Regions from separate parts of the Homo sapiens genome. Here region 1 is linked to region 2. The links are contacts of gene promoters, found by promoter capture Hi-C in blood cells and fetal thymus (Javierre and others, 2016). All regions are on one chromosome and are shown on one strand. Each heading gives the region's core, a stretch centred on a gene start or on the middle of the fragment in contact. The rest is flanking DNA. Distances are from core to core; before and after follow the strand shown.

What was found. Contacts are between HindIII fragments. The CHiCAGO score rates a contact against its expected background, and 5 or more counts as called.
Region 1: the fragment with the promoter of DCTN2 here is called in contact with a fragment that was not itself captured in region 2 in 1 of 17 cell types (neutrophils); the score reaches 5.2 in neutrophils.

What each region holds. Positions count from the first base shown.
Region 1 is chr12:57,545,812-57,548,511 of GRCh38, reverse strand. DCTN2 (dynactin subunit 2) reads left to right here and starts at 1,320. Exons shown (of 14, transcript NM_001261413.2): 1 at 1,320-1,484; 2 at 2,416-2,484. The coding sequence starts at 1,449. RefSeq lists an enhancer at 1,052-1,191. The HindIII fragment of the contact is 9,827 bases long and covers 1-2,700 here.
Region 2 is chr12:57,253,994-57,256,693 of GRCh38, reverse strand. It overlaps R3HDM2 (R3H domain containing 2), which reads left to right. Exons shown (of 24, transcript NM_001394031.1): 22 at 183-280; 23 at 620-704; 24 at 1,581-2,700. The coding sequence ends at 1,921. Among named protein-coding and RNA genes, the nearest start is that of STAC3, 4.2 kb to the right of the region's middle. The HindIII fragment of the contact is 2,452 bases long and covers 147-2,598 here.

The DNA.
Region 1 (2,700 bases), core at 71-2,570, 290 kb before region 2:
TTTAGTAAAGGGGTTTCAAAATGCCAGTCCATGGAGGGTCACTGGTCAGAGACAAAAGTTCACTGAGTATGCCCTCACCTCCAAAAGAACAATGGTGAGTTTTTTTTTAATATAAAGATGGATTTGATAAGTTTCAAAGGACTATCTTTTATTCTGAGTGTGTCCTTCTTGCTTTTCTACCAAGTAATGATGGTGACAGTAAATAATAGGTTTTCTATTTGTAATATACTTACTTGATAAAATAAAAAGGCAAATCTTCAAGGTTTGTAGTTGTTTTAATTTTATTGAACGATGAAATTTAAAAGTCTGAGAACGGAAGGTAAGGTTGGTGAATAGGTACAAAAAATTAGAAAGTATAATAAGACCTACTATTTGATGGCACAATAGGGTGACTATAGTCAAGAATAACTCAACTGTACATTTTAAAATAACTTAAAGAGTAATTGGATTATTTGTAACTTAAAGGATAAATGCTTGAGAGGATGGATACCCTCTTCTCCATGATGTGCTTATTTCACATTGCATGCCTGTATCAAAATATCTCATGTGTCCCATAAATACATACACCTACTGTGTACCCACAAAATTGAAAAAATTGAAAAATAAATAAAAGTCTGAGAACTATTAACGAAGTAGTTAAGAGCCCAGAGAGTGTTCAGACAGACATGGAGACACCACTTACCTACTTATGAACTTCAGATAGAATTGCCAGATTTGAAAAACAAAAAACAAAAACAGGATGCCCAGTTAAATGTGAATTTCAGATACTTAATTTTTGGGGGGTTAGTATACCCACACACCACACACCACACACACACACCTACTTATTATCTGAAATTCAAATTATCTGAAAGCCCTTACTTGAGAAGATTGCCTAACTTTTTCATTCCTAACATACACTACGCGTTTACTAAATTTTACTTCTTGTTTTTATTTTGTTTTTATAATACACAGTATCAAGCAAACTTCTTGTTTTTGAAACCCCGGCTGTGTCACAGTATGACTACCTGTATCATTTAATCTAGTCATTTTATTCCTGGGAGCCCCAAACAGGAATTATAAATGTTCTTTCACTGACTTGCTGTAAAAGTGAGAGAAAAGGCTGTATGAAATAGCTCCCCAAGGTTCGTTATTGTCGCTCCCCGCCCAAGCTCCAGTACACCAAAACTACACATCCCACAATCCTAGGCGGCGTCCCCTGGCCATTACCTCATTCCCTGGCCTCGTTCTCCCCAATCCCGGCCTCTCCAGGGGTGTGGCAGCAGGGCTGTTCTCGCGACTTTTGCTTTACCCTTCTGCTGTGCTACTGCTGTCGCGAGACTTCCTGCTCATCTGCCGCTCCCTTTGCCGCCGCCTTAGCCCGGGACCCGAACCCAGCCTCTCCCCTACCCGAACACCGGCCCCGGCTCCACCGAGGCCCGGGTCCCCCAGCCCGTCTCGCCGCCGCCATGGCGGACCCTAAATACGCCGACCTTCCCGGCATTGTGAGTACAGGACCGGCCCCGGCTCCCCAGGACCGCGCCCCCGACCTCCCAAGGACCCCCAGCAGAAACCAGCCCGCGACCCCTCCCGCCTGCAGCCCATCCTCCGCCCAAGGGCTCCCGCCGCTCGTTCTCCGATCGGCCTCAGCACCCCCCGAACTCTTCTGACCCGACTGGGCCGGGCCGCCGGACGGCGCACCAGGCCCCCTTTCCGGCAGTCGCCGGTAGCTCGGCCCAGAAATCGACTCCGGGTACTGACCTCTTGTGCCTGAGTTTTTCCACCATCCGTGTCAACGCCTCCCATGTCCCCCCCAAATCTCTCCATAAGACCCCATCGCTACCCCAGACACACACACCAGACCACTTAACGATGGCCTTCATCCTGCCAAGGAAGAGGTTCTGCCATCTGGCAGAACCCTCTTGTGCCAGATGGGGAGCTCTATCCTTGAGGGAACCTATGCCCTCCCCCAGCCCCCACTCCCATGACAATCCTGGCGTGTACCTTCCTTTTGTGCTGCCCTGCCTGCTTCTCAAGGTGAGGGTTGGGACACAGGACCTTGAGTACTAAGGTCCTGAGTCACTCTCAATCCTTGTGCCAGGGTGGTGGTGTACGGGGCCTAATTGGAGGATAGCCTTCACCTTCTTTGGCAATAGTGATTGCCAAGGACCTGCCCGCCTCTAGATTTAGGGTAACATCGTTGCTATCACTTACACTCACCGTTTACTGTCAGGTCCCAATTGTTTCCGCTGTCATCCCTACCCCTTGAGACATGGGAACTGACATACTGTTGACTCACGGGGCAGGTGGAGGAGAAAGGACAGAACCCTGACATCACACCCCGCCTTCTCTGTTAGCTTATTCAAATGGAGTGGGGGAAGGGGTGTTGTTGGATGCTGGGTAGTGAGGTTGGGTGGTCACTGCTTCTACCTGCAGGCCAGGAATGAGCCAGATGTTTATGAAACTAGCGACCTACCTGAGGATGATCAAGCGGAGTTCGATGCGGTAAGAATGTGTGCTGCCACAGACTCCTCCGGACTCTGACCTTTCTCCCCTAGACAGGTCCTTCCCTTTCTCGGGGGAGCTACAGCAATAAGCGGGTATGCCAACCCCAGCCTGGGTGGTATATAGGTTGCAGGGCTTGCAAAGACCTTGCTGGGCTTGCAGCCACCAATGAGCAATGGCAGGAGGGAGAGTCAAGTCAGCGGAATTACAGCTAAC
Region 2 (2,700 bases), core at 123-2,622:
CACAGTTGAGAGCCAAAGGATTTAGGAAGAGAAACAACTCTTATACCAGTCGCATGGGCATTTCCATCATAGAAAATTAGGAATAGTATGCATTGTTGCTGTCTCCAAAGCCCCTTGAAGTCTTATAAAAGTCATACTATGAAGCTTAAGCTCCCAGAAAACCAATTGCTCTTACTCCCTAGGTGATGGGCGCTACTCCCTTTTGGGCCAGCCATTACAGTACAATCTGTCCATCTGCCCTCCCTTGCTCCATGGCCAGTCAACTTACACGGTGCACCAGGTAAGGGTGTCCACCAGCAACTGTAGGGCCATCAGACCCCTCTTCTTATTTGGGTGCCTGTGTCTGAGCTTCAACCAGCTGGGTATACAAGGGAAATAACACAGAATGAACAAAGCAGGAGCCTTGCCCTACCTCCTATACTCATGTCTCCCACCCGACCCCCATGCCAAGAGGGAGGGGCTCTTTGTTTCTCAGTCGCTGCTCCATGGCCAACCTGACTGCCTAGTGGGGTGGGGTCCTCTGGGTTGGTGCTACTCCACAATCTCTCAGGCAGACATTCTGATGCAAGGCAGTCAATGTTGTTTACATGGGATGAGAGTCGTCTTTCAAATGTTGAAGGGACAGAGTGGACTGAAGCATGGAAACCGGGGCAAGAGACAAGCACTCAAATCTGCCTCCACTGACCTGGGGACAGCAGATGTTGGTGAGTCACGGGATGCTGAATCCCCAAGAGAAGGTGCCCACCCTTCCAGCGCTTAATTACCAGTCCAGCATGGGTGGGAAAAGCCAGCTTAGGATGGGGAGTGGAAGTGGGACCCTTTGTGCTCAAAAGCAAGCAGAAACTGGAGAAGTGAAGTATCTCAGTCCTCCCTACCAAGCCATCTCAGATTCTGAGGAAGATCATGGTAAAAAGTGGGAATAACACAATTATGGGAGTTGCCTCTTATTAACAAAGAGTTTTCTAATTAGTGTCCTGTCCCTAATCTACGACATCTACCTTTGGTAGTCCTAGACCCAGTTTAGGAGAAGATTGGTAGAGAATATGGGGGAGAAACTCTCGTCCTACAAGCCTCCCACTAGGTGAACAAGATCTGTCTTGGGATTTGGAGCAATTTCCTAAACAAGGAAAGGAAGGGAAACTTGACTTCCTGAGATGATAAGAAGGAAGAATCTATTTGAGCCAGCCTCTGAGTGGGAAGGGAACTATGGAACATATTTCAGATTGATACATTATTGTTAAAGAACATTAGCAAAAGCCACATTTTCTTCATAGCAGTAGCACCTTGTGAGAGAACTGAGGTATAGGTTCTTAGCTCAGAAACCCAGGATTCTGATTCCCTGTCCCTTCTTTCCTGTATCTCTGGGCTAGGAGAATAGAAAGGTTCATTTGTTTTTCTCCTAGTTGCCCTGATCAGAGCTGGGATGGTGGGGAGGGGAAGAAAGGGCTAAGAGAGAAAGGCCAGGCTTTTGAAGACATTGTATACAGACTTAGTCAGCTGGACACTTCTCTGCTGGGCTGCTGTCAAGTCCTTCCTGTCCTATTCCTCTCACAACCATGTCCTCTCTCCTCCCCTTCCAGTCCTGGGGCGGGTGCTGGAGGTGACAGATCTCCCTGAGGGCATCACCCGTACTGAGGCGGACAAACTCTTCACGCAGCTCGCCATGTCTGGCGCCAAGATCCAGTGGCTCAAGGATGCTCAGGGGCTGCCTGGAGGGGGTGGGGGGGACAACAGTGGGACTGCTGAGAATGGCCGCCACTCGGACCTCGCTGCCTTGTACACCATTGTGGCTGTGTTCCCCAGCCCCCTGGCTGCCCAAAATGCCTCCCTTCGTCTCAACAACTCCGTGAGTCGCTTCAAACTTCGAATGGCCAAAAAGAACTATGACCTGAGGATCCTGGAGCGAGCCAGCTCCCAATAAATGGAGGAGGGGAAAGGGACTGTCACAGAAGGAGCAAGGGCAGGGTGGAGGGGGTTGAAGGATCCTGACAGACCATGGACAGAGGCAGGAAGTAAGGAAACTGATGTTAAACTGGAACCTAAGACAGTGATGAAGATGGAAACACAGATACCTACACTGGCATTGGACTCCTTCTTGCTCCCCTGCCATGGGTCCTCTCTTTTTCCCTGGTTGACCCCCCTTGCATCACTCTTCTTCCCATCCTCTTCTTTTTTTTTTTTTTTTTTTTTTTGAGACGGAGTTTCGCTCTTGTCACCCCAGCTGGAGTGCAGTAGCACGATCTTGGCTAACTGCAACCTCCAGCTCCTGGGTTCAGGTGATTCTCCTGCCTCAGCCTCCCAAGTAGCTGGCACTACAGACACGCGCCACCATGCCCGGCTAATTTTTGTATTTTTAGTAGAGACGGAGTTTCACCATGTTGGCCAGGCTGGCCTCAAACTCCTGACCTCAGGTGATCCACCTGCCTTGGCCTTCCAGAGTGCTGGGATTACAGGCGTGAGCCACTGTGCCTGGCTTCCATCCTCTTCTATCATTTTTTTAAATCTCTTCTCCTATCATAAAATTAATTTCTCATTTTTTGGTCAGGTAGAATTGGGAAAGTCCCACACTGTCCTCCTATTACCTTAACATCCCAAGCTTCCTTTCCTTTTTTGGTCTTTATGAATATATTTATATGGACAGAATTAAGATAAACAAAATTGATTGCCCCATTCTCTCACTTCCCCATCTTGTCTTCCTAG